Regions from separate parts of the Homo sapiens genome. Here all the other regions are linked to region 3. Evidence: promoter capture Hi-C in 16 types of primary human blood cells and fetal thymus (Javierre and others, 2016). All regions are on one chromosome and are shown on one strand. Each heading gives the region's core, a stretch centred on a gene start or on the middle of the fragment in contact. The rest is flanking DNA. Distances are from core to core; before and after follow the strand shown. Region 1 overlaps TAF2 (TATA-box binding protein associated factor 2). Region 2 has its middle 160 kb from the start of SNTB1. Region 3 holds the start of MRPL13 (mitochondrial ribosomal protein L13). Region 4 overlaps ENPP2 (ectonucleotide pyrophosphatase/phosphodiesterase 2).

Evidence for each region. Contacts are between HindIII fragments. The CHiCAGO score rates a contact against its expected background, and 5 or more counts as called.
Region 1: a fragment that was not itself captured here is called in contact with the fragment with the promoter of MRPL13 in region 3 in 1 of 17 cell types (total CD4 T cells); the score reaches 5.3 in total CD4 T cells.
Region 2: a fragment that was not itself captured here is called in contact with the fragment with the promoter of MRPL13 in region 3 in 4 of 17 cell types (total B cells, naive CD4 T cells, total CD4 T cells and 1 more); the score reaches 5.6 in total B cells.
Region 4: a fragment that was not itself captured here is called in contact with the fragment with the promoter of MRPL13 in region 3 in 2 of 17 cell types (fetal thymus and naive CD4 T cells); the score reaches 6.2 in fetal thymus.

What each region holds. Positions count from the first base shown.
Region 1 is chr8:119,799,965-119,807,294 of GRCh38, reverse strand. It overlaps TAF2 (TATA-box binding protein associated factor 2), which reads left to right. Exons shown (of 26, transcript NM_003184.4): 4 at 894-1,012; 5 at 3,276-3,417; 6 at 5,270-5,501. Among named protein-coding and RNA genes, the nearest start is that of TAF2, 29 kb to the left of the region's middle. The HindIII fragment of the contact is 4,933 bases long and covers 210-5,142 here.
Region 2 is chr8:120,971,566-120,979,116 of GRCh38, reverse strand. No RefSeq gene overlaps it. Among named protein-coding and RNA genes, the nearest start is that of SNTB1, 160 kb to the right of the region's middle. The HindIII fragment of the contact is 4,475 bases long and covers 1,153-5,627 here.
Region 3 is chr8:120,441,407-120,449,056 of GRCh38, reverse strand. MRPL13 (mitochondrial ribosomal protein L13) reads left to right here and starts at 3,907. Exons shown (of 7, transcript NM_014078.6): 1 at 3,907-3,989; 2 at 5,749-5,872. The coding sequence starts at 3,963. It overlaps MTBP (MDM2 binding protein), which reads right to left and starts at 3,638. Exons shown (of 22, transcript NM_022045.5): 1 at 3,469-3,638; 2 at 2,544-2,624. The coding sequence starts at 3,586. RefSeq lists an enhancer at 4,000-4,179. The HindIII fragment of the contact is 4,989 bases long and covers 399-5,387 here.
Region 4 is chr8:119,630,285-119,637,105 of GRCh38, reverse strand. All of the region lies in intron 2 of ENPP2 (ectonucleotide pyrophosphatase/phosphodiesterase 2), which reads left to right. Among named protein-coding and RNA genes, the nearest start is that of ENPP2, 5.1 kb to the left of the region's middle. The HindIII fragment of the contact is 1,251 bases long and covers 650-1,900 here.

The sequences.
Region 1 (7,330 bases), core at 1,427-3,926, 640 kb after region 3:
ATAAGGTCAGATAACTATGGAACAAATATTTATGTAGTAGTCTCTCCTGACATAGTGAATATAACGGTGAGCCTGCTGAAAATTCTCTGCTTCATTAAGCTTACATTATGATGCACTAATGGGTGGAGGTAGGTGCTATTACATTTTGAGGAACTGAGTCCCATCCTGATTTGTTTTAAACATCTTAATTTTTGTCAAATTATAAAGCTTGTTGAATCCATTCAATTTTTTGCCACATTGATAGGGAATAATTATTTATTCAGTGCTTCACGTATTCTTTACATTTGTATCAAAAAAGGATAGTGGCTTTGGCATTCCAAAATTAATGAAGAATGTGATAGTCATAATAATAGTCATGTAACTTGGTGAGTAGAATATATATTCTGTTGTATTCATAGATTAATAGTTTTTAACATGGTGAGTAGAGCAAACCATTACTTGGCTAAAGAGTGTTCTTAGAAATTATATAAGAAGATAAAATGCTTACAAATAATTGGTATCAAATGATATTTAAGAAAATGCTCAGAGGCCAGGCATGGTGGCTCATGCCTGTAATCCCAGCACTTTGGGAGGCCAAGGTGAATGGATCACTAGAGGTTAGGAGTTCGAGACCAGCCTGACCAACATGGTGAAACACCATCTCTACTAAAAATATAAAAATTAGCTGGTTGTGGTGGTGGGTGCCTGTAATCCTAGCTACTCGGGAGGCTGAGGGATGAGAATGCTTGAACCTGGAGGTGGAGGTTGCAGTGAGTTGAGATGGTGCCACTGACCTCTGGCCTGGGCAACAGAGTGAGACTTCATCTAAAAAAAAAAAAAAAAAAAGAAAGAAAGAAAAATGCTTGGTAAGATACATGGCTTATTATTAAAAGTTGGCTCTTTTTTTTCCCCAGGAGAAACCTCAATTATTTTTCCAATGCTTATGCAGCTGCAGTTAGTGCTGTGGACCCTGATGCAGGAAATGGAGAACTTTGCATTAAGGTTCCATCAGAGCTATGGAAACACGTTGATGGTAAAGCACCAAGAGTATATTGACTGTACACTAAAATCACGTTAGATTCAGACACTAGAGAATTTTACATGAGAACTAATGATGCAGGCACTGTGCCTCATGCCTGTAATCCCAGCACTTTGGGAGGCTGAGGCGGGTGGATCACCTAAGATCAGGAGTTCAAGACCAGCCTGGCCAACATGGCGAAACCCCATCTCTACTAAAAATACAAAAATTATCCAGGCTTGGTGGGCGCATGTAATCCCAGCTACTCAGGAGGCTGAGGCAGGAGAATTGCTTGAACCCAGGAGGTGGAGATTGCAGTGAGCTGAGATCGCACCCCTGCACTCCAACCTGTGCAACAGAGTGAGACTCCGTCTTAAAAAAAAAAAAAGAAAAACAAAAACAAAACGAAAGAACATTAACGATGTCAAAATTGTAAATTAACCAGTTGAAATATATAGAATGGGTTGGAAGCTCTTTTTCTTATTAAGGATCACTGGCTAACAGGATGATACCATTTCAGGGCTGTGAAAAAAGCAATTTATTTCACCGTTGTTTTTTAAAGCTAAAAAAAAAATTTTTTTTTGTTTTTTTTGAGACGGAGTTTCGCTCTTGTTGCCCAGGGTGGAGTGCAATGGCGCAATCTTGGCTCACTGCAACCTCTGCCTCCCGAGTTCAAGGAATTCTTCTGCCGCAGCCACCGAGTAGCTAGGATTCCAGTCTCCTGCCACCACGCCTGGCTGATTTTTGTATTTTTAGTAGAGACAGGGTTTCATCATGTTGGCCAGGCTGCTCTCGAACTCCTGACCTCAGGTGATCCACCCTCCTTGGCCTCCCAAAGTGCTGGGATTACAGGCGTGAGCCACTGCGCCTGGCCATGAAAAATATTTTTAAAAAATCATATAGGTAGAACCTGCACAATATCAAATTAGTTTAGAATTGTAGCATTTTGTAGCAGGAAAGATCCTGAAAAAATCTGGTTAAATTCCTTCTTTTTACAGAAGAGTAATCTGAAGTCTAATGAGAGTGAGTGACCTGCTGAACTTCACTTAGCAAATTATTGGTGAAGTTAAAGCTAAAACACATGGTTCCTGATACTCAGTCTGCAGACTTTTTAAACCTTCTTTGTGTCTTGTATAAAGTTTTAGCCATTGTAATATTGTATATTAGCTTCTGCCTTGCTTATTTAGCCTTATAAAAATTAATCAAGGAAGTAAAAGAGTCCTTGTTTTGTTTATTGGTTTCCGTTGTGGGTGCTGGGGACGGGGTAGGGTTTGTGGAGGAACTTACCCTAATTTAGGGGACAGACGTGGAAGTCGTCATTGCATTTTTAGGGTTTGGAGATAGTGCATATGATTGTAATTCTTGGAGGGAAATTAAAATCTTATGAAAGCAACACAGTTTATAGTGAAGAAATCAAGCATAACAAAAAACGTGATAATAATGCAAATTCTCCGGTGGTGTTCCCTACTCTACCTCTCATCCTTGTACTCCCCAAAGTCACCCAGGGTTAAGTTTGTGGGATAATATAATAAGAGAAAGAACTTGAAAAGTAAGTGTATTAGTCCGTTTTCATGCTGCTGATAAAGACATACCTGAGACTAGGAAGAAAAAGAGGTTTAATGAACTTATAGTTTGACATGGCTGGGGAGACCTCACAATCTTGGCAGAAGGCAAGGAAGAGCAAGTCATGTCTTATGCAGATGGCTGCCAGCAAAAAGAGAGAGAGAGAGCTTGTGCAGGGCAACTCCCATTTTGAAAACCATCAGATCTTGTGACACTTATTCACTATCACAAGAACAGCAAGGGAAAGACTTGCCCCTGTGATTCAGTTACCTCCTACCAGGTCCCTCCCATACCACATGGGAGTTATGGGCGCTGCAAGATGAGATTTGGGTGGGGACACAGAGCCAAACTATATCAGTAAGTTTGGGGTTGGATTTGGAAGGCCTAAGTGTGCAGTGTGGGAGTTTTGGACTTTTTAGGCATTGTACATTGTCAGAAATGTTGAGAGGAGGATATGGCGTAACCAAAGGTGTATTTTGGGAAAATAATACAAGCAATAGTTATAATTGATTGGAGGTAGAAAACCAATAGGGGCAGCCTGTTGAGTTAATATAGGCAGACATATGGTAAAAGTCTAAACTAGGGTAAGTAGTGTGGTTTTTCATATAAATCTCAGTCCTCAATTCCATTTCATGTTCAGCATTAAATCTTTGTCTTTATTATATAGACCACTGTAACTTATGTATCAATGTGTGTATATGTTTATTTGTTGCAGAGTTAAAGGTCCTGAAGATACACATCAATTTTTCTTTGGATCAGCCCAAAGGAGGTCTTCATTTTGTGGTACCCAGTGTAGAGGGAAGTATGGCAGAGAGAGGTGCTCATGTTTTCTCTTGTGGGTATCAAAATTCTACAAGGTAGATTATAGATTCTTAAATATTTCAATTAATTTTTAAATTGCATTTTTTATGTATAAGCAAGACATACATTTGGTGTAAAACAAGAAATACTAGTTTTATTCCCTTCCAAATTTAGACTTCTTTCAAATTACTTTCTGTTAGTCATTCCTCTTAAAAAAAAATTTTTTTTTCTTTTTTTTTTTTCAGACAGTCTTGCTCTGTCACCCTTGTTGGAATACACTGGGGTGCTATCTCTGCTCACTGCAACCTGTGCCTCCTGGGTTCAAGTGATTCTCATGCCTCAGCCTCCCAAGTAGCTGGTATTACAGGCATTCACCACTACACCTGCCTAATTTTTTATATTTTTAGTACAGATGGGGTTTTACCATGTTGGCCAGAATGGCCTTTAATTCCTGACCTCAAGTGATCTGCCTGCCTCAGCCTCCCAAAGTACTGGGATTACAGGCATGAGCCACCATGCCCGACCCCTCCTCAATCTTACATCTCCCTTCTTCTCTCTCATTTTCATGTCTACTGTTCTAAAATAATCATCTCACTTGATTCCTTCTTTTTTAAAAACTTTATATTGAAGTAAAACATACATACAGAAAATTGCACAGAATGTAAAGCTCGATGAATTTTCACAAGTGAACAAGCCTACATAATTTACATCTAGAGACAAAGAATATTACAAGATTATAGAGACCTCCTCTCACCTGCTTTCATACTCTACTTCCCCACTCCACATTCTACTACTCAACTCTGCTTATTTATTTATTTTTTTTGAAACAGAGTCTCACTCTGTTGTCCAGGCTGGAGTGCAGTGGCATAATCTTGGCTCACTGCAATCCCCACCTCCTGGGTTCCAGTGATTCTCCTACCTATCCTCCTAAGTAGCTGGGACTACAGGCATGTGCCACCACACCTGGCTAATTATTTTATTTTTAGTAGAGATCAGGTTTCGTCATATCTTTAGTAGAGATAGCCTGTTGCACCAGCTGGAGTGCAGTGGCGCAATCTCGGCTCATGCAATCTCGGCTCATGCAACCTCCACCTTCCAGGTTCAAGTGATCCTCCTGCCTCAGCCTCTGGAGTAGCTGGGATTACAGGCAGATGCCACATGCCTGGCCAATTTTTGTATTATTAGTAGAGACAGGGTTTCACCATGTTGGCCAGGCTGGTTTCCAACTCCTGACCTCAGGTAATCCACCTGCCTCAGCCTCCCATAGTGCTGGGATTACAGGTGTCAGCCACTGCGCCCAGCCTGTCCTCAGATTATTATAATAACTTCTCTAAACCAGGGATAATGTCTTACACACTTTTGTGCTTCAATACTAAGTACCTACCCTGTCACGTAACACCTTACTGAACTGATGAAAGCTGACTATAAATTTTATATCTAACTTAACCAGCACTCAGTTTGAATTTATACAATACGTTACATACTCCAAAAAAGCAGTTTTATAATTTAATGGAATAAATTCTGAATGTTAGTTATGCTTTATAAAACTTTTTGCTGTGAGCCTTTTTTAGTTTCTAGAAATGAATGCTGCATAAAAACTGACTAATATGCGGATACAAGTTAAAATTATTTTTTAAAACACTGAAAGCTAAGAATTGCTTAACTCTTTTTAGGGTTTGAACTGATGGTACCACATAATATATTTTCTTAATATTGCCAAATAGTATTTGGAAACAGATTTTATTTTATCAGATTTTTTTCAGGTTGTACAGTAAAAAGCTTCAGTAGCCAAATAGCTAAAGGTTTTGTTTGTTCATTTTCTAGAAATGCTAAAATAACTTGCATGTGGGGAAAACAATGTAGAGAACTCTTTGAATACATTTTCTATACTGTCAATCTTTTTTCTAGATTTTGGTTCCCTTGTGTTGATTCATACTCTGAATTGTGTACATGGAAATTAGAATTTACAGTAGATGCTGCAATGGTTGCTGTTTCTAATGGCGATTTGGTGGAGACAGTGTATACTCATGATATGAGGAAGAAAACTTTCCATTATATGCTTACCATTCCTACAGCAGCGTCAAATATCTCCTTGGCCATTGGACCATTTGAAATACTGGTAGATCCATACATGCATGAGGTAAGTCAGAGCTTTCCTCTCTTACTCTCCTCCTGGCCCTTTACTGCTTTTAAAAAGATAGATATTGGCAAGGCACGGTGGCTCATGCCTGTAATCCCAGCACTTTGGGAGGCCAAGGTGGGCGGATCACAGGGTCAGGAGATCGAGACCATCCTGGCTAACACAGTAAAACCCTGTCATTACTAAAAATACAAAAAATTAGCCAGGCGTGGTGGTGGGCGCCTGTAGTCCCAGCTACTCGGGAGGCTGAGGCAGGAGAATGGCTTGAACCCAGGAGGCAGAGCTTGCAGTGAGCTGAGATTGTGCCACTGCACTCCAGCCTTGATGACAGAGCGACATCTCAAAAAAAAAAAAAAAAGGTAGATATTAATGAAATATTGTCTTCCTTCACTCTTTTTTCAACTATCAAGAATATGACTAGAGAGAAAATGTTTCCTTATCTAATATATATAATGATGTGAATTCTTGAATGAATTTCTTTCAAAATGTTGTATTTAAATTTCAGATTATTTTCCAACAGAGTCTTAGCATTTCAAAAGAGCTTCAGTTATATCTTGATTTAGCATATAGGTAGATTTCTGTAACTAATTTTGTTCATTACTAATGACATCTTTTCATTTATCATGTTTTTGAATGTTGTGGTCCCATCTCTGGAATCTAAAATATTGTAAATTCAAAATTAAAGAGCAAGATTTATTCTCTCTTCAACCTATACAGAGGAAAACAGACAGAGTTAGAAACCTGGTTAGCAAACTCATGAAGACTTCTAGTTTCTTCCCAGCACATATCTTATCACAATTCATTTATCAATTGACAGGCCAAATCACAGTTTTAGGCCTCCCCAAGCATGAGACTTCTGCTGATTAGAAAATGATTTATTAGTTGTTAACTCTCTTTTTTCGTCTTCAATTTAGGTTTATTTTTTAAAAAAGAAATACATAAGCATATAATTTGACCACGTATATCTCCACAGCATTTCTTTTAGTCATGTGAATAAAAATTGAGGGCAGCAGGCTTTCGGTGAGCTCCTCAGTTTGCCTTTTATATTTGCCTTGCTGAAATTCACAGGATTTGTAAAATCACTCGTGGAAAAGATTCAGGATATTTTGTGTTGGTTTTGCTTACGTTGTCTTAACAATGACTCTTTTTAAAGGTTTATCCACTGATAAGATTAGCAGTGAACTTTATTGTCTTTGGTAAATGATCAGCTTTAAACATGCTACCTGACTTCAAACTATACTACAAGGCTACAGTAACCAAAACAGCATGGTACTGGTACCAAAACAGAGATATAGACCAATGGAACAGAACAGAGGCCTCAGAAATAATACCACACATCTACAACCATCTGATCTTTGACAAACCTGATAAAAACAAGAAATGGGGAAAGGATTCCCTATTTAATAAATGGTGCTGGGAAAACTGGCTAGCCATATGTAGAAAGCTGAAACTGGATCCCTTCCTTACACCTTATACAAAAGTTAATTCAAGATGGATTAAAGACTTAAATGTTAGACCTAAAACTATAAAAACCCTAGAAGAAAACCTAGGCAATACCATTCGGGACATAGGCATGGGCAAGGACTTCTTATCTAAAACACCAAAAGCAATGGCAACAAAAGCCAAAATTGACAAATGGGATCTAATTAAACTAAAGAGTTTCTGCACAGCAAAAGAAACTACCATCAGAGTGAACAGGCAACCTACAGAATTGGAAAAATTTTTGCAATCTACTCATCTGACAAAGGGCTAATATGCAGAATCTACAAAGAAGTCAAATTTACAAGAAAAAAACAACCCCATCAAAAAATGGGCGAAGGATATGAACA
Region 2 (7,551 bases), core at 2,141-4,640, 530 kb before region 3:
CCAGCCTCAGCCTCCCGAGCAGCTAGGACTACAGGCATATGACACCACGCCAAGCTAATTTTCTTATTTTTTGTAGAGACCAGGTCTTGCTCTGTTGCCCATGCTGGTCTTGAACTCCTGGCCTCAAGCAATCCTCCCATCTTGGCCTCCCGAAGTGCTGAGATTACACCTGTGAGCCACTGCACTGGGCCATGCTTTTGTTTTTTAACCACAGTGGAGCATAACCTATGTTGTCCGACATATATTCCTTTGAGATGTCTCTTAACCCTCACAATAGTCCTGGGATGTATTTCAGAGAGGTGATTAACTTACAGATTAACAGTGTTTAAATTAAAGTTTCTCAAACCCTCATCCGCTGCACAAAACTGCTCTAAATTCCTTTCCTCGTTCCTCCTTATGTGACCTTGCCTAAACCATTTGGAAGAACACTCAAGTATTTTGTTTCCTTTTAAATTTCGAATGCATACTAAATTTAAAAGGAGAAAGCAGCTACATTCCTGCTTCCTTCCTTCTGGATCTCATCCTGATCCTTCTCAATAATTCATAGCTAAATAATTATAGTTACCACTTAAGCATCACCTTATTGGTGACACATCTTAATATGCAATCATTTTTGCCCAAAACCTTTCTGTTCCTTTTATTACCCTCTTCACAATTTGCCGTCATTACCCACCCAATTTTACAAATTGGTAACCTCAGAGTCAACTATGGTTCTTTACTTCCCTTCAACCCATAAAGTCACTGTTTCAAGACAGATTCTGAGTTTAGCCCACTGTCTCAAAACCTTCCTACTGCAGGTAGTTCTTGCAATCTGGATTTTTAGCCATTCAGTTGCGTGTGGCATCTTCTCACCTAGTCCCTCTGTTTCCTTCTCTCCTCTCTCCTCTCATCTCCACTACCTTTAAAAGAAAATCCAAACTTCTTAAATGGCCAATAAGGCCTGTCACTCTCTAGACCTACCTTTCCAAGTGCCTCACATCTCTTTTCACACCCTATACTTCTGCTGCTGTGACATTATCTCCATTCATTTCGTGATTCTTTGTGCAAGCTGGGGTTTTTTGTTGTTATTATTCTCCTCCCAACCCTACCCATCTGACAATCTCCTACACATCCTTCAAAATGCTGTTAAATGTAACTTCCTATGAGAAAGCTTTTTTCCCCATTCCCTGCAGCCCAACTGGTTAATTTCTACTGAGTTCCCACAGCACTTAAGATATTAAATTGTGATATCTATTACTAATAAATCAAATTGCTGATTTCTGATTGCTGCCACTTCTCAAGAGTAAAAGTTGCCTCATCTTTTTCTGTGTATTCCCAGCGCTCAGCACTATACCTGGCATATACAGCTGTTGTGGGGATTAGAAAAGATATTAGAAAGAAGATACAAAATGAATAAATGAATGGAGTTTTTAGAAATCCAACCCAAAGTATTGCATTTGAGGGGATAAGCTGCAATATACAAACGTAAAAGCTGCAAAGGAGAATGAGAATCTGATCTGGAGAAAGAACATTGAACTGAGATTCCATATACCTGGGATATTGCTCCATCCATGGCACTCACTAGCCACAAGGCTCTAAAGGTGTAATTTTACCCGTCAGCACTTTTAGACTTAATGATCTGTGACAACAGATCTTACTCTAAGATACTATAAACCTTGACAGAAAACAAAAGCTAACCAGTGACCTAAGTCTTTCTCTGTGTATTGAATGAGTTAATTCAGATGCTAGTGAAGTTTTATCATATACATATATCTTTCCTAACTGAGGCTGGGAGGAACTAGCCCCAGTAATTCTAAGCAACAGTTTTAAAGACATAAGAAAAAAGAATATTGGCTCAGAAACAAAATACAAAGGACACTCTCTGGTTGTGAAATAAGCCACATGAAGTAAGAGGAAATGCTTTTTTTATGAGAAGATCCAAGCTAACCTCTTCAAAAAAAAAAAAAAAAAAAAAAAAAAAAAAAAAAAAAACTATCATTATATCCAGACAAATTAAAAGTCCATTCCAATGCAAAGCAGTTTCATTTAAGGCAAGTCAAATAGTGCAAAGGTCTTGCTGAGTTGGACCTAGAAGCTCCACACTTAAAATAGAGAGGCATTTTAACTTTTCATGTATGGTTTTACTCTTGCCAGTTACCAATTTTTTGTTAATTGCCTTTGGTTGTCCTTCCTGCCCGATGCTGGAAAATTTTCTTGGAATGGAAGAACAGTGGTGCTGGAGGTAAGAATCTTGTCTGTGCTGTCAGTGTTAGGGACAGCCAGGAACAATACAAGTCAAATTTCATGTGAATGCAGGAACCACCGTCAGGCTGGCTTCGCCAAGACCAGAATGTAATCTGGGGAACACACATTTTGCTTGGCAACATCTCTTATAACCACGTAAACTGTTTGTATCTTCAGTGGCCCAAGCTCGTTAACTCATACTCTACTATCCACTGTTAGCATGACTCAGTTATATCCCATGCCCTTTTTCTGTGTGATTTTCAAATCCTGCAAACCAGTATGTTGTCTCATATCCCTGGATCAGATATTTTCAAGAGAGAGTATCAGAACACACCACTGTTGTGTAAATCAGAGCATTGATACAAGGCTACCAAGTAGGTTGCTGGCCAGCCTACAGATTGCTCACACTTAGTTAGGGCTCCACCCTGGTTCTATCATCTTTGGCCAGAGTAGAATGGTCAAATGAATCAACGTTGATATTTACAAAAGAAATCCCTTGGAAGAATATTTTGGGTGAGGCCAGCACTTGGAGATTAGGCCTGTCCGGGACAGAATCACAAGGCCCATTATGATAACTGGGGTAACTTTCCTTATTTTTAAACTGAAAGAAGCCACAGCAACTCCAGATACCTCTGAACATATCTTCAGTATCAGCAGTCACTTGAATGACCCACTTTGTTGTATTGACATAAGGCCACTTTTCAATGAGCTTTCTGCATCAGTCAGCTGTGTTGCTTAAGTTTCTGTTATTAGTTGGCTAAGTTATGCTGTAGTAACAATGGTCCCCACAATCTTAGTGGCTTACAAAGAGTTACTGCTCTCTCATGTGTGTCCATTGTGATTGATTCTGGTTCTGCTCCACATTGTCTCTACCTTGGGACCTACGCTGGCTAAAAAGTCTCTGTCTCTGAAGGGTGACTATACATCTCAGTTTATCCAACACTGTCCTAGTTTATGCCTATTGTTCCAGAGCAATTATTAATAAATAGCATATATTTTCACTCAGTAGTGTAATCTCTTGTTTTAAACATTCCTAGTTTAGACGATAAACCATATGTCATCTTTTCTATGAGATGTCAGTGATTTCATGGCAAAGAAGAAAGAAATGGCAAAAACACAAACTGGCTGTTAGAAGTCTCTGCTCAAAAATGATTCAAATCACTTCTGCCCACATTTCATTGGCTAAACCAAGTCAAATATGTACTTCTGAGTCCAGTGGAGTAAGAAAGTATAATTGCTCCACAGAGTGGCAGCAAATATTCTGAACCAAATACAACCTACTACACACCAAATGACAGCAAACTTAAAGAGAAAATAAAGTGATGTAAGTGGTTTGCCCAAACTGTGTATGCAAAATAGGTGAAGAGGTAGAGTTAGAGGCACTGTAATTCAGGGGCTTTATACAATGTTATTCAGTCTTGTCCAAGGCTTTCAATTTATTAAATGCAGAAAAACCCTGAATCCTAAGGAGGGGAAGTAACTTGCCCAAGATTTTAAAAGTCCATGGACCAGTCCATGACCTATTAATATGGGAGTTTCAGAGTATGATGGAAGGAAAAGAAGTTAAGTGATAGTGTCATCCTATATGTCTAAATATGAAGCAATCCCAAGTTACTCAATTTGCATAGCATTAAGATAGTTGTTAAAAACGGTGTGGTACACACATAGTAAATGAGAGAGTGCCCATAGCATGAGAAACATTGTAAGAACTTGAACATAATGCAATAAATGGGTTATTCTTTTATGAAAAATAATTTCAGAGAAAGTCCTCAGCTTATATTCAGACATTTATGGCACATGAGTCTTACCTCCTACTTGGCACTAGGTAACCTGACAACCTCCCTGCGCTTCAGGGCCCAGCTGCTGTGGTTCTCAACCCTGATGCCTGGTTGCCATCCCCAAAGATTCTGATCCAGTTTTTGGGAGAAGAGGTGTAGGGAATCAGTATTATGTAAAAAGCTCCCGGGTTATTCTAATTTATATCCAGGATTGAAAACCACTAATGTAGGATTTTTTATAGTAGCCCATGGACCATAATAAGACTCATAATAATAAGAGAACTTATTTTTGGTCTAGGCACTCTTATAAGGAGATTCAAATGTCATATTTTAAGAATGGAATACTGTGTCACCCCAAATATATATGTTGAATTCTTAACCCCCAATGTGATAGTATTTCAAGATGAGGCCTTAAGTTATTAGGATTACATGAGGTCAGCGGGGTAGGATCTTCATGTTGAGATAATTGGCCTTATAAGGAGAAATTTCAGAGACCTAGCATTCTCTTTTTTTTCTTTTTGGAGACAGGGTCTCACTCTCTCTCTCAGACTAGAGTGCAGTGGTGTGATCTCGGCTCACTGCAACCTCCACCTCCCAGGTTCAAATGATTCACCTGCTTCAGCCTTCCAAGTATCTGGGATTACAGGTGCACGCCACTACCACCCAGCTAAGTTTTTTATTTTTAGTACCTACAGGGTTTCACCGTGTTGGCCAGGCTGGTCTTGAACTCCTGACCTTAAATGATCCACCTGCCTCAGCCTCCCAAAGTGCTGGAATTACAGGTGTGAGCCACCACACCTGGCCCATTCTCCTTTTTTCCCTCCCTCTCTCTCCTCCCCTTCCACTTTTATCTCCCTCTCCCCTTTCTTCTCTTTCAGTCCCCCTCCTTCCTTTTTCTGTCTCCTTTCCCTTCCCTTCATACACATACATAAAGAAGTCACATGACATCTGAGCACACAGTGAAAGGGCAGCCACCTACAAACCAAGAGAAGAGGGCTCAGAATAAAGCCCACCTTGCCAGCACTTTGATCTTGGACTTCGCAGCCTCCAGAACTGTAAGAAACATTTCTGTTGTTTAAGCCACACAGTCTATGGTGTTTTATTATGGCAGTCTGAGCAGACTAATACACCATTTTTCTTCAGAATGACCTGGGTCCTATTTATCACTGCAAGCACCTCCACCCCCAAACACACACACACACACACACACACACACACACACACACACACACACCTGGTTGGTTTGTTTCATTTGTTTGCTTGTGATGCATTTTTCTATGCAAGGTAACAATTTAACATATAAACTAGGCATTTTTGAAATTAAGAGGGAATACTATTTCTTCCAAAGAGAGGAAAGAGTCTTTGGTGTTTCTAGTTTGAAGATTCAATGTCTTTCTAATGAGTGCAAGGCTAGAGGTTAAGAAACATTTGGTCTAGTGCTGGTTCTGCTACATAACTGGCCATTGAACATTGGGTGGATCACTTTACCTCCCTGGATATCACTTTCTGTATTATAAAGGAGAGAATCAAACAGATGTTTTTATAAGGTCCTTTTTTCCAGTTTAGGAATCACACAACCATCCATAAGGCAGTAGTTCTAGCCCACTTTTTTAAATGAATTAAGCTTCCTAAAAATGCCAAGATCCATGACTCTTCTCTCCAACTACAAACAAATTGGTTTAATTGGCCCAGGGCAGGTAAGGCCACTTTAATGGTATTTTTAAAAAAGCTATCCAGGGTATTCAAATAATCAGCCAATATTTAAAAGTATTGAGCTACTTTACAAGTTTTTGCCAATAAGGATACAGACTCAGGTGAAGTCATTTGTCCAAAATCACATAGCTTGTAAGTGACAAAGCCAGGACACAAACCTTGGTTGTCTAGCTACAAAACTCCTTCCACTACAGATGGTACAGGAGCTCTTGGAGCTGCCTGAGCCTCCTGAAAGAGCTTTTGCTTCTCATATTTGAAAGTTGACTTGGCTGAGTAATCAGTCACACTCATCTGTCAGCTGCTATAGGCATAAGAGGATGAAACTGTGGTTATTGTAGAATGAAAGAAGGGACCATTCTTCCATTTATATCCAGTAGAATATACTGGTTCTCCATATCTGGGTGTTAAAAAGGAGAATATGATGCACAGAGACTAATTGTGGATTACAAATATGAATGTTTGTAGATTTCTCCGGCTTTCATTTCCACATAGAACTATTTTCTGGTATACTACTACATTGGCATTTGATTAATGTTACATTTTTGGCTTGTTCTTCAGTTGTAGCAACACACAGATTTCTGTCTACATGTACTATTCACTGTCATCTGAACTTCCCACTCAATGCAGCTGATAATTACATGTTCTGGAAGCTGTGTGTCACAACCAATTAACTTGACAGGCTCCACTGATTTGGGTAAAAATGGAGGCTGTACAAATCTGTTTTGTGGTATCTCAGTATAGAGAAGCAATTAAGTGAAAGGAATACAATAAAATAACACTGACTTAAACCTAGGCACATGAGAAGTGATTAGAAAGATTGAGCTTTGGAGCCAAAGAGACTGAAGTTCAAATCCCAATTCTGCCACTTACTAGTTGAATGGTCTTGCTAAGTTACTTAGCCTTACTTACATTTTTAACTGTATATCTACCAAAAAGTACGCCTAAAATACGTATTCTTATTTAATATTAGGTTGCTACACCAACCTAAATTACTTTTGCACTAACCTAATAAAATAATAATTTAAAAAGAAATAGGCCACAGTGGCTCACACCTGTAATCCCAGCACTCTGGGAGGCCAAGGCAGGCAGATCACTTGCCATCAGGAGTTTGAGACCATTCTGGCCAACACAGTGAAACCCTGTCTCTACTAAAAATACAAAAAAAAAAAAAAAAAAAAAAAAGGAAAGAAAAAAAATGAGCCAGGCATGGTCTTGCACTCCTGTAGTCCCAGCTGCTCAGGAGTGCAAGACCCAAGGCTGCATTTGGTCCTTGGTCTATATTTTGCTGACCCCTGCTTTAGAGAAATTGACAACTTTATACTGAGAGAAATTTTGCAGAAATGCTTCTCTTAACATTATTCGTAATACCAAGCATCTTAAATGGTCATTGTTCATAGAATGAGACTGCATATGTTGTTTTATAGTCAGTGAAATACTATATAGCATTGAAAATTAATGATCTCTAACTGCATACATCAATATTAACTGATTGTAGACACAATGAAAAGCAAATAGAGCAAGGCACAGAAGACAGATACGTAACATGATCCTAAAGTTCAGAACAGGGATACATATATTTAGGGATACATATACAGGTGGTGAAACTGAAAAGAGGAACTACAGAGGAAAGGAAGGGGACAATTAAAAGAGGCATGGAGTTATCATTGGGGAGAAAATGGATATGAAAATGGATAAAGTTCTGGGACTTTAAGAGTACTACATGTCAATTCTATTTCTGAAGCTGATCTGATGAGCATAATGATGCTTATTTTATTTTGTTTTATTTTTTGAGACAGAGTCTCGATCTCTCACCCAGGCTGGAGTGCAGTGGTGCAAT
Region 3 (7,650 bases), core at 2,658-5,157:
TATACTGCAGGGAGAATACCTCAAAAGCACAGATCTGATCATGTCTCCTCCTTAATTAAAGCTTTTAATGGCTGCTGATTACCATTAGGAAAAAATCCAAACACCCTGACACTATTTACAAAATCCTCTAAATAGCCATGCCTACCTCTCCACCCTTATCCCAATTATAATCATATTGTACTTTCCGTCCCTCAAACTTGCCATATTACTGAAATCAATAATCCTAGTATGGCAGGAAATTCAGCGCAGGCAGTTTCCATTTGCATGGTTCTGATATGCACAAATTCCAGTTACTGTAGCTTAAACAACACCAGTTCCCCAACAACCTGGTTCAAATTTCAGTTACCATGGTATATTCACTAACTATAACTGCATAGTTTAAGACTTCATTGCAAGCTTCTCAGTCTACAAAACCACTGTATACATAAAAGATGTGTGTCATGATCAGTAACCAATCATGTTACTACTTTTAAAGTACGTCATTGATTGGTCACTGTGCAAGTGCCATTCAGTTCACACACAGGTAGCAAAGGATGTAATTGTGTTGCCTTCTGGTTTCCCAGTGTAAACCCATGTGATATTTTATAAAAATGGATAAATGGATGAGGGAATTTTTTAAAAAGAGAGAGATAAAGAAACACCAAAGAAACAAAAAGTGCTAACACTGAAAGCAATCTTCAAAGCTAATGTAAATAGAGTTCTAAAAATAGCTGCTGTGACAAACACCTTTTGATCAAAAAGGTGAAGATGTCCCAGAGAAAATGAGGCTAGCAAAAACCTTAATATTAAAGGAACTCAGAGATATTTCACAACATTGAAAGTCCAGGTCGGGCACAGTGGCTCACATCTGTAATCCCGGCACTTTGGGAGGCCAAAACAGGTGGATTACTTGAGCCCAGGTGTTCAAGACCAGCCTGGGCAACATAATGAAACCCTGTCTCTACAAAAAGTTAAAAAATTAGCCAGGTGTGGTGGCTCATGCCTATAGTCCCTGCTACTCAGGAGGCTAAGGTAGGAGGATAGTGACACTTGAGCCGGGGAGGTTGAGGCTGCAGTGAAGCATGATTGAGCCACTGGACTCCAGCCTGAGCAACAAAGTGGGACCCTGTCTCAAAAAAAGAAAAAAAAAATCGAAGAATAAAACATTGGAAGTTGATACAACTGGAATATGATAATTCGCCAATAAAAGATGTTCATTCTGTATCATAAGTTACGTGATGATGTGAAGGTGGCAAGCACTGCTCAAACTACTCTTGGTAAGGTTTTTACAAAGAAATAAAACACTTTAATTCTCAATGTACCTAAGGTTTTAAAATTACAGGGTACAAAATAAATTTTATTTTTACTATTTTTTTATTTCCATAAAATTTTATAACAGTAAGAGAATTTTTAATGTTTTGACAAAAGATATTAAAGGTCATGGGACAATTCTAATTTTTCTCATTGATTATATTAGGATTGCTTTGCACAATCAATTATAAAGAACAACACTATCATACAAAACAAGGACCGTGTGTATAAGAAACCCTAAACACGCAAGGGGGAAGTAAAATTTATCATGAGAACCCCTGGAATACTCCCAAGAGCTCTTTTACATATACATTTGAGGTACAAATCAAAGAAAATCTTTCCTGCAATAATAGTGGTATTGACTAAAATTATACCAACTTGAAAATTAATGAGTATTACTAGGCCTTGGAAAACAAGCTAGAGTAGCATACACATATTAGAAATCATTCCCCAATGGTGTTATTTGACACCGAGAGACAAGAGGTTCTCTAATGAAAGAAGAGAAAGGTGCAGATTGTACAGTCACGGGAACTACAAAATTATCAAAAGGAGCAGACCCTTCCTTGCATGGAAAGAAACTTCCTTCAGTTTTTAGGTATTGGTCTGTTTTGGCATCTCCATTTTCAGAACGTTTAAAGGACATTCTCCAGTAAAGGACAAGAAGCAGGAATAAAAGAAAAGATAACTATCAAAGTCAGTAAATGCATTTGTATAATGCCAGTAGAAGCTAAAGGAGGAAAGATTTTTACAAAGTACGGTTGGTCAAAAAAGCGAAATACTTCAAAAAGTCAAAGCAGATAAGAACTGAGAAAAGCTCATCGTGTTTAGTAATTATTAAGTACTTTTAAGAGAATCAGAACAGAAATAGGTAATTAAGAACAGAAATAAATAAATAAATAAATGGTAAGGAAATCCGTGTGGGAGCTTTACATATTTTTACTCATGATAAAATCATCCTCATAAAGCCACACTCCCCTTAGTTATACAGAACTAAGATAGGCAAGAAAATTTCATAAAAGGAGCAAAATTCAAGCTGAGAACCTAGAATAATTTTCATAACTTTACTATATTCAAGCATCTAGAAGAAAGGGGTAATTTATTTTTCAGTTTTGTACTCCCTTAGTTATCTCTGTAACTCAGTGCCTTGTACACAGTCAAGAAGTATTTCCTTGTACTCCTTAGGGTCCAAATTAATTAAGTTAATTTCCAGTACAAATGCTGTGCCAGAGAAAAGAGGAGTTTATTATACTTACCAGGGAAAGTACTATCTTCTGGATTAATTGAAGCACTAATGCTTCTTTTCAAGAGGTGATAAACATTTGCTGCTGTGAAGTCTGAAAAAGAAAAGATAGACTAACTCAAAGGGCTCTAGATTTACATAATCTAACTTAGTCCAATTTCACCATCAGAGACTCTCAAGACCAGTAGGTTGTACATAAAAGTACTAAACGCTGCTCAAGATCTGTTCAAGTTTTGATACAGAAAATCTAAAGCAATCAGAGAAAATAGAAAAGGCTCCCGATCTGTACATGCCAGTCAGTTAGCACGAATGCAAAATTCCCCTCAAAAGAATAATTTTAAAGAGAAGGGAAATTCTGTGACAATACCTTATACACAACCACATACATTTACTCCTCAAAATGCCTGTTTGATCGAAACAAATGAACACATAAAATGCAATATTGAATCTAGACGGGTGCACCAAAAAGCAGTGCAATCGCAAACAATTAAAATCATTTAAAATTCATCATTTGTTTTTAAAACTTAGGTTATATGTGGGATGTCTCCTCCCATTAGATGTAAATTGTAGGACAGCAAGATCTTTGTCCATCTTGCTCCTTTCCGTATTATTTGCATGTGAAACACAGGAGCAGAAATAATAAATGCATATATTTCCAAAAAGCAGGAAATTCCATTACTAAGGCATAGAAAATTTATTAAGTTAAACATTTACTATGCCAAGAACTTCTAAGGGCTGGAATCTTGCATCCACAAATTTGTCCCTGTTTTTCCATGAAGATGCTATTTTTGCAGCCCTCATTAACTCTATCCCAGATAGAGTCCCAGCTTCGTGGGACAACTACATATTGATCCCTCTTCAGCAGAACTTGATCACAAAACTCAAACTTCTTCCCCTCTCCACAAGCCGTTCCCGCTCTTTCTCATCCCAGCGCTTACCCGGCTGATTCTCAGTACCCTCACCCGACGACACCTCTGGCCCATGTTCTGCCTCCCTACTGGCCGCCGACGGGAATTTTCCTTCCCCCCAGATCACCAGCAGCAGGTACCGATCCATCTCCTCAGAGATCACCCCCCAACTTTAGGTCTCGGCTTCCACATCCAAACAGACGCGCGCTATGACGCATTTCCGGTTCCCTTCGTTTAGGTCGGCTGGAAATTATGTCCTCCGTCGGTTTTCCGCAGTTTTTCCACCAAGCGAGATATTTTTGGGAGTTATTCCCTAAATAACTGCATTATATGCTCCTTTCATGACGAAATTGCTGCCGTGGAGAAGACTGGAGGAAACTCGAGGAAGAGGGAGAAGCCGACAAGTGCTCGACGGGCTAGGAACTGTCCTGCTTGGGTGTTAGCGTTTCCCGCCGGGCCAGTAAGGCTGAGTGACCCGGCGTGGCTACTAGGAGAAGGACGTACGGTCCTGCTAGTAGAGGAATATGTCGAGTTTCTCTAGGGCGCCCCAGGTGAGCTCGGACTCTTATGGCTTGATGGGGTTCATTATACTGGCAGAAGGAGAGCGTTGGTTCCGGCAGATTAAGTAGTGAAGCTGGGGCGGCAGGGAAGCCGAGACCCTCGGCCAAGAGGTGACTTGGGAAAGCACAAGAGGGTCGTCAGTCTGGCAAGCACTTAATGTCGTTCGTCTGTTACTCGTCCCCTCTTCTTTTCAATCTGCCCTTTTCATGTCTTTCTTGGGGGGGCGGGGGGAAGAGGATTAGAGCAGATCGGAGAGGTAATAAGGTGGATCACATAGGGCATTGTAGGCCCTTGCAATAATTTGTTTTTTGACTGAGTAAAATGGGGACCTTTTGGAGGGTTTTGATCCACGGAGTAACAGGATCTGACCTGGTGTCAAAAGGAGCACTCTGGCTGCTGGGTCGAGAATAGACTGTTCAGAAATAGGGGTTAGTAGAGGACAGAAGCAAAGAATATGTTTGGAGGGTGTTACAGTAATCCAGGCGAGACGTGATGGTGCAGAGGCCACGCTAGAAATACTATGGAGTGTGTTGAAAGTGGTCAGGTTTTGTTTGAAGGTGGAGCCAGTAGGACTTCCTGAATATTGAGTATAGGCCAACAGCAAAAGAAGAAACAAGGATTACCCCAAGGTTTTTTGGTTTGTCCAACTGGAGGGTGTGTCATCAACTGAGATAGGGAAGGCTGAGATTGAACCAGGTTTCAGGTGGAAGAATAGGAGTTAGTTTGGGTTATATCGGTCTAAGATGACTCTCAACTCAGTGCCGCTCCAAGTATGGTTCCTTCCTTGGGCTGTTTGTTGCCTGTCTGTGATGAGATAAATACAGGAAGTAAAATAAAAATTTTAAAACCTTTTTCAGCAATCTGACATCGCCCAGCATTTGTATTTTTTTCATTAAAAATTTTTTTTTTCTAAGTATCAAACTATTAGTCTACAATGGATGGGGACAAAAACTGGCCTTTTTCTTATATGTAGACTAGTTTGAGGTTGTGATAAGTAAATTTAAAATAAGACCAGCTAGCCTCGTTCTATTTTTCCAGCATTGTTTAGCCTCTTGTGTATATGCATAGAGAAAGCATCTGGTGGAGATCTTTCTGGCCTAGAATTTTCTAAGAATTTGAATACATTGATGACGACTGTAAAAACAATGCTCTATTCCTGAGGCAACCTAAAGATACCTATTTCAGGCAACTTTTTAAAGTTGAAATTTATTCCACATCACCCATCTGTACTTTCCCAACTACATTGTTCTATTTAACTCTCCCCAGGAATTGAACTCCTGAATCGTCTTCAGTTTCCAGTTGGCCACTCAGCTTTCAATATAATGTACCTAATAATCTCTAAATGTTTTTGAAGACCTTCATAAACAGCTTCTACTTTCTTACAAGCTTCTCATTGCCCCTCCAGATTCTATTATGTGTTATACAAAAAAAAAAAAAAAAGTCATACCGTAAAGGGAAATATATCTTTGGGATATTTATAACAAAACGTAAGTCATATTGCTAACAGGAAACCAGGAAGGAATAATTACTGTGTTTGTCTTTGCAGAATGATTAGAAAAAACAACCCTTTTCCAGAAATAGAAATGAAAACAAAAATTCTTTAGCAATAGAGTTATTTTTCAAAGAAATTGTTGACATTAATTGTAGAAACGTGATGATATATGATAATAAATTTAATTACTGTATTTCCATTTTAATGATAATTATCTTTATTTTTTCCTCTTCTTTTTTTTTTTTTTCCCCCCCAAGCAATGGGCCACTTTTGCTAGAATATGGTATCTCTTAGATGGGAAAATGCAGCCACCTGGCAAACTTGCTGCTATGGCATCTATAAGACTTCAGGGATTACATAAACCTGTGTACCATGCACTGAGTAAGTATTATTTTAGACCTGTCATTAACCACTGTAGTTTTCATGCCAGAATAGAATCTTGATGAAGTTTAACAGGGCTGAGTTTAAGGGCCCTTTTTATTTTTCCTGAGGATCCTGTATTCCATTCTTGCTGAAACCATACTAGCGCCCAAAACTGAATTTGGCTTATTCACTGGAAAACCGTATGGATCAGTTTACCCGGAACAAGCCTATTTTATGCCACTGCCCAGCGAAATTATTAGTAGCCCTTCTTTTCACACTCAGAAATAACCTGATTTGCCCCATGACTTAAACTTTCACTTTTATATATGTCTTTTCACGTGATGACATCCATATAAAGAGTTTTTAAGGGAAATAATTTTGCCCTCTCTTCTAAAAAATCTTTTCCCCTAGAAAAATATATGGTGCTAGCTAGGTATGGGAAGCTTATTTTCACTAATAAGACTAATAGACTTGCTTTTCTGTATCCTTTTTCCAAAATAAAATTAAAAAGTTGTTTTCGTTCTAGAAGATTTCTGCTTACAGATAGTTTTTGATAGACTTCATTTACCCCAGCACTTCATGGCCAGATCCAGATGTCAGTTTTTAGTCCTCATACTGGTTGACTTGTCAACAGCATTTGCTGCAATTGATCACATTTTTATTTAGCTTTTATTGTGCAATATATTAAACATACAAATATGTATATATAAAAATATGTGATATTTTAAAGAAAATTAACCATAACAATTATAATGGTGAAATGAATATACTCAGCATTGGTTTGTTTCCAATTTTTTTGGCATTATGTTATATTACATTAATGTTGCTATCAATATTCTTGTGCCATTTTCTTAGCACACATGGAAGAATTTTTCCAAGGTATGCCCAAAAGACAGGAATTACTGGGTTTTAAGGTGCATAGCAACTATTGAGTCTTTATCATGCCAGTAGCATGCAAGAGTTTCCATTACTCCTCATCTTCAATAACACTTGATATGTTCGTTCTTTTTAGTTTTGACTATTCTGGTAGAAATAAAATGCTTGCTTTGTGATTTCAATTTGCATTTTCTCGATGACAAATATGGCTGGCTGAGTATCTTACCACTTATTGGCCTTTACAGCTTCCTGTCCTGTGAAATGTCTGTGCATGTCTTTTGTCAATTCTTCACTGAGTTGTTTGTCCTTTGCTTTTTTCTTACTTTTATTACAAAAGGTTTCAAACTATCAGAAAAGGTCAAAGAATAGTACAATGAATTTCTTTATACTCTCCACCTAAATACAGTTAACATTTTATCATATATTTTTTATTCAACCATTTGAAAATAAGCTGCAGATGCCATTATAATTCCCCCAAAGTACTTCAGCATGCATCTCCTAAAAATAAAGATACTCTCTATGTAACCAGAATGCCATTGACACACGTAAGAAAAGAAACAGTACTTTATTTAGATGGTCTCATGTTCAGTGCATTTTTAAATTTCTTTGGTTTTCCCAAGTATGTTTCTTACAGCTATTATTTTTTTGAACCAGGATGCAACCTAGGTTTATGTATTGTCTTTAGTTGTTATGTTCCTTTAATCTCTTAATCTAGAATAATCCTTCTTTTATTTTCTTCTCATTAACCTTTTGAGGAGTCCAGGCTAATTTTCATCTGGAGAACTTTCTTCTTGAAACACATTCTTCACTTGTTTCCCTGGATTCACTTGTTTCCCTGTTTCTTCTCCCTTTCTTAGTACCCTTGGCTATCCTCAGCCTTCTAAACTCTCAAATGCTCTTCTCACCAAAAATTGGAAGTG
Region 4 (6,821 bases), core at 26-2,525, 810 kb after region 3:
GAGAGCCAACTGCTGGTTCTTTTCAATGAACACTAAAGGGAACTTTTTTTTTCTGTTTCCTCTTAATATATTACTCTGGCTAAAACTGAGATTGAAAGAATTAAATGCTGTTTCCTTAATGAATGTAAAATTGAGTCACTCATTATTTTTAAAGGTGACTTCTTTTGGAAAACAGTCATTAAAATCCTAGGCTGGTACCCTGGAGTCCTGTAACTTGCTGTGTGGTGTTGGGCAAGTCACTTGTGAAGTCTGTTTCCTTAGCTGTACAATGAGGAGCAGACTTAGATGATTTCTACTTTTCTTTCTGGATTAAAAAAAAAAAATCCCAGGAATTATTCTGTTTCATTGCCTCTTGAATTTCTGTGCTCACTACTGGAAAACTTGAAAAGTATAGATTGGATTTATTAGTCTTTGAAAATATTTTGTGTATAGTAAATTATTTCCATGTTATAAGAATAGCTATATGAACTAATGAATAAATGCCACTTCTAGAAAAGTAGTATGGTCTATATTATAATTTATAAACCTAAATGGTCTTAAGTGGGCTACACGAATTTGCTCCTTGAATTATTTAATTAAGTCGTTGGTTATTTTAGGCCTTTATGATATCATCTAAAATAATTTATTAAACTTCTAACCACGTGAAGCTTAGTCTTAGAATACAATGCAACCTAACTCTGAATTTTATGGTTTGGATATGCCTGAATAATTTTTCTTTTGATGTAGCTTATGTGCTTTTTAGGAACTGTGGTTGATTTCTCCTGAATAAAAATCAAGGATGTACTTAGTAAACTAGGTAAAAGCATCCTGTAGACAGTGGAAATATCTTTATGCGTTTAAATGCTGCATATGCTTAGAAAGGATCTCTCTCGATTGACACATGTGACTGGTTATTCTGACCATTAGAAAAGCCTTCCCATCAGAAAATACTGGGTGAATTTTATAAGCCTGTAAGAATAAGACACTAGGTGGGGAGGAGGCAGCCATGCCTATTTCCAACAACATTTTTAGGCGCCAAAGAAATCCTGGGAAGCTCAGTGCTCCAAGGGTGCAACAAATAGAAGGAACACAAAGGGTATTGATATATGGCTAGCTTCGGATTGATCAGAGTGAGATCCACCATTCAAAAGCATGCAGTTGTTTAGTAACCATAGCTTCTCAGAGTCCTCAACAATAGCTGAGAATGTTCTGTACACATGGATGCCCTCGCTGCTGTACTATGGACTGGGGTGTTAGTTTCAAGGTTGTGGCAGTGCAAACAGACTGTCATAATTAATTAACTAACACACTTGTTACCTGGATTTATTGTTAGCGTAGGAAATAATGGCTGAACAGGATTTTTTATACCAGGTCATAAAAGATTTATAGATTTATTAGGAGATATGAAATGAGAAAAGCTACTTATAATTCTGTTGGGTAAATACAATGGGCATTCAGGTTAATGAGACGGTGAGATGGGTGGAATAAATTTTCTAAGAAAATATAAGCCATAACTGTGATTTAGTTTGACATCTTTTTCTCATATGTCTGATGTGGCCCACTTGATTTGCCTTTAAGACTGCAAGAGACTTTATATGTCTACAGGTGTCTGTGCACTCATGTGCACTTGCAGTGTGTATGTTTGTGGTGTTATGCAGGAGTCTATTTTATTGAAACTTGTGATTTAGAAACTGTCTCCAGGTGGAAATAGAATATCCTCTTTGATATGTAAGTAATTTAATTCTTAAAAGACAAAAGGAAATTTGTGAGCTTGTGAATAGCTGGCTAACAGAGACTTAAAAGCTCAGTTTAATTCATCATTGTTTTTAGTGGCTTGAAAGGAAAGTTGAAAAGTATGTGAATGAAATTCATAGGTTCATATGAAATGTAGACTGTCACTAACAACTTTATGGATAAAGCTTTTCTTTGAGAATCATAGGGAAATCAGAAAATGGAACTAGAAGTGAGAAGGTTTATGTTCATTTGATAATTTTAGAAATTTTGCTCTGCAATGAAAAGCTATTTAAATGTTGGCATGGGAGAATGCAGGAAACTGTAAAGGGGACGTAGATCAGCCATTTGCTCTGTGAGCAAAACTCGGTCATTAGGATTATCCTGTCATGGGGCTTTATGTGAAATTTCAGGTAGAAATTGGGGAGTTTGAGTCAATGGAATGAAATTATCTGAACTGGAAGCTAAGGAGGGTACAGATTTTTCAGTTCTTTGTTAAATGGGGCTGTAGTGTAGTGATTTTTCATCTATCTGAAAACTGTAGAGACTCCTCTATCTAGTTTACATACTCAGAAATCTCAGTCTTCCATGAACTTCAGCCTAGATTTTTGAATCAATAAAATCAGCAAATCTTCCCCAAAATTATATTTTGAAAAGAACTTCTAAAATTTGAAAACTATGTACAAAAGTTTGAAAAACCTTTCATTAATGAAAAAAATACTGTAGTTACAGTGAGATGATCTAAAATTTTATCCAGGCCTTGGCTAACTCATACAAGGCCTAGAGATCTAATTTTCCAACCAGGAAAATGGGGATAAAGTCGCTTTTATTTATCTGAAAAAGTTTTTGAAAATGCCTTTAAGGCTGATGAGAACTATAAGGTGTTAAGTATATGATAATTCATTTAATTAATCTTCAATTAGGTTTGAAGGCCAGTGTTTAAACTTATACCTTATTGAGTTAACAATACCTTTAATTTTAAATGACAACATTTTATTGTTTGGTAGCAGATGTGCAAATCATTCAGATTTATGCTACTGATGGCCATTAAATTCTATTTAAGTGGTTTAGATGTTGAAGTAAAGTTTTTAACTTTTAACTTCAATTACGTAGAAATCTTTTTTTTTCCTTCTAGTTTGTGAGCTCTATATGAGGACATTGTGTGTATGTATGTATGTATGTATGTATGTATGTATGTATGTATTTATTTTTTGAGAGAGAGTCTCATTCTGTCACCCAGACTGGAGTGCAGTGGCGTGATCTCAGCTAACTGCAACCTCCACCTCCCAGGTTCAAGTGATTCTCCTGCCTCAGCCTCCCGAGTAGCTGAGATTACAGGCGCCCACCACCGCGCCAGGCTAATTTTTGTATTTTTAGTAGAGATGAGGTTTCACCATGTTAGCCAGGCTGCTCTCGAACTCCTGACCTCAGGTGATCCACTCGCCTCAGCCTCCCAAATTGCTAGGATTACAGGCATGAGTCACCGAGGCAGGTCAGACCATTGTGTTTATAAATGTTTTGAAAGCACAGGTGTTTAAAAACTTCCCAGGTGGACCTCTTTATTAAAAAAAAAAAAGTTTATGAAATCTGGCCTAGCAGCTGTGAAGAGGAGAGAACAGTGATGTTGCAGTAATGGATATTTATAAAAAGTTATGTATTTAGGAAGCAAAGATACTGACATGTAGACCTGTGTGTAAGTTCTATTTACTAAAAAATGAGGTCAGAAGCATCAATAAAAAATGGCAAATTCAATACGAAAAAAGTATGACCAGAAAGAACGAACCATATACTCCAGAAGAGGCATAATACAGTATTAACTCTAGAGCTGGGCAGCATCTTGAATGCCACGCACACTGTCCTCTGCCTTGCCCTGTGGGTTATGCTTCAAACAGGGCAGCAGACATAAGGGAACTTGTCCTGTTTTAACGCTCTTGAGAAAAGGAGCTGGTATAACCACAGCTGGTAACACATTTTAAGGTTTTGCTCTCACTTTCAGGAAATACCTGGGCTAAGAACCAAGGAGAATGGGAGGAACAGATAGAGAGCAGTATCATAAACAGGAGCAGACAAAGCTTAGAAGAACCTTCCCCCTTTAGGCTAAGCTAAATGTTTCCAAACTTAAATACTGCCTCTTCTATTGGCCATCATCCAGATTTGAGTATTTGCATCTTTACGGGGGACATTTAGAGGGAAATATGATTGGGAGCCTTAGATCAAGTAATGTTTTGGCCATAACTTTTGTCATCGGTTAGGCTCCTTCCAAAAATTTAAATCATCAATAGTTTTGTTGTATCTTATGGAACAGATGGCACTAGAATTCTTTTGTTGTTGTTGTTTTTTGAGATGGAGTTTCGCTCTTGTTGCCCAGGCTGGAGTGCAATGGCATGATCTCGGCTCACTGCAACCTCCACCTCAAGCAATTCTCTTGCCTCAGCCCTAGCTGAGATTACAGGTGTGCACCCCCATGCCTGGCTAATTTTGTATTTTTAGTAAAGATGGGTTTTCTCCATGTTTGTCAGGCTGGTCTTGAACTCCCAACCTCAGGTGATCGGCCCACCTTGGCCTCCCAAAGTCTTGGGATTACAGGCGTGAGCCACCGTGCCCGGCCGGCACTAGAATTCTACAACCCTACCTCTCTATACATATTGTAAGATGGAATATTTTAGACATAAAGTTGACTTAAGTAAAAGTAATTGTACCTGTTTCTGTCAGAATTATGAATTTGAATGAAATAACGTATGTTTTACATTGGTGTTTCTTTAAATCATGAAATTATGCTTCTGTGAAAAATAAGAAATGCATTGCATTGTTGTTATACATGTCATATATGTACCTATGTGTATTTTAAAATTTGAGGTTTCTATTTTTTAAAAGAACACTATATAAAGCTATGAACATTTGTTTTTCAAGATTCTGGAACTGACTTGCATCTTTGAAGTAAAATAACATCATTTGAATATGTATTTTAAAAGGCGGCAATAGAATTTGAATCTCATAAAGGTATTAGCAAATGCCTCATAAGAAATTTCAAGCCTCCATCATACTTATCACATATTTCTGCCTTGATACATTTGGAGAGTACTTTTTGTTTGTTTTAGTTGTTTTCTGCGCTGTTACGGCCATCTCAGTAATGATGAAAAATTTGGGATACCACAAGTTTGTTGATGTTTCAGTTTTCATCCCGCCTCTCAATAAGTTACACATCTGAAGTGCTTACATCAATGTTCTCTTGATTTAGGTCAAGTAAAGGAAGACAACAGATTTTAAAACTCAGACTTCTAACAAATCGGATAATCTTTCCCTATTTGACATTACGTCAGGTACAATAAAGAGAGAAGTCCTAAAAACTTCAAATGCATGCAGGAACAAAGGACTGAGGGATGAGCAGAATGTTCAGATAAATGGCTTGGGCGAGCCTGGAAATGACATTTAACATCGTTCTCCTTCTGCTTCTTGATTTTTCTTGATTTTAAACATCTTAGGCTGGGTGTAGGGAGAAGGACAGGGAACGTGAAGACTCCAAGTATACTGACTTGATTTTTATCAACTACATGAATGTATTATCACCCCAAAACTATGTACCTCTATTATTCATCCATAAAAAATGATTAAAAAAAGAATATGAAGGTGGATTGCAGAACTCCTAGGAAAACAGTTGGGACTAGAGCTTGTCGTGAAAGAAGATGGCTGGGACGGAATAGACCCTGGAAAGGCAGAGTGAATATTCCACTCTATTGTTCTATTTTATTTATTTGTTAATTTAATCATTTTGTTTATTTTTTTTGTACACTCATCAAGATGGTCTTTTCCATTGCACACAGGAGTGTGTGGCATTACTGAGTGTCATCATACACTCACTGTATTTTATTTAAAAGAGATAGACTGGGCGTGGTGGCTCACGCCTGTAATCCCAGCACTTTGGAAGGCCAAGGTGGGCGGATCACAATGTCAGGAGATCGAGACCATCCTGGCTAACACGGTGAAACCCGGTCTGTACTAAAAATACAAAAAATTAGCCGGGCATGGTGGTGGGCACCTGTAGTCCCAGCTACTCAGGAGGCTGAGGCAGGAGAATGGTGTGAACCCAGAAGACAGAGCTTGTAGTGAGCCAAGATTGCGCCACTGCACTCCAGCCTGGGTGACAGAGCAAGACTCCGTCTCAAAAAAAAAAAAAAAAAAAAAAAAAAAAAAGATAGCAGCATGGCTGGGCGCAGTGGCTCACACCTGTAATCCCAGCACTTTGGGAGGCCAAGGCAGGCGGATCACGAGGTCAGGAGTTCAAGACCAGCCTGACCAACATGGTGAAACCCCGTCTCTACCAAAAATACAAAAAATTAGCCGGGCATAGTGGCGGGTGCCTGTTATTCCAGCTACTCGGGAGGCTGAGGCAGGAGAATCACTTGAACCCAGGAGGCGGGGGTTGCAGTGAGCCGAGATCGCACCATTACACTCCAGCCTGGGTGACAAGAGCAAAACTCCGTCTCAGAAAAGAAAAAAAAGAAAAAAAAAAAGAGATAGCAGCTCAAATTTATTTGGGTTATTGGTTTATAAGAGGTTCTATATGGCTCAAACTACCTTCCCTTTTTCTTTCCTGTCATTCTCAGCTGAATTCAAATCATCCGAGAATGAATTTTGACATAGGTATATCCTAATCCACCCAGCCCCAGGAGTATACCCTAATTTGAAGCTGTCAATAACTTGATCTTAAGTACAGTACTTCTTTTGAGATACATCTTGGCATTATGAGTGTAAGGCTAACTCTAACAAAGTTGTCTTTAGTTTTGCTTGTCTTTAGGTTTGGCAAGAACTGTAACTGATAGGGACCGACTATTAAGTGAGATTCAATTATTTTCCAAAAACAAAGCAAAGGACAAATTTAGAGAATGATTAATGTTGTAAGAAAATAGTAAAAATCAGGTGAATGAGTGAAGAAAGATTAAATGTGGCTAAAAATTCACACAGATACTCTGAAAGTAAAGAAAGAAATAGGCCGGATGTGGTGGCTTAAGCCTGTAACCCCAGCACTTTGGAAGGCCAAAGTAGGTGGATCACCTGAGGTCAGGAGTTAAAGACCAGCCTGACCAACATGGTGAAACCCTGTCTCTACTAAA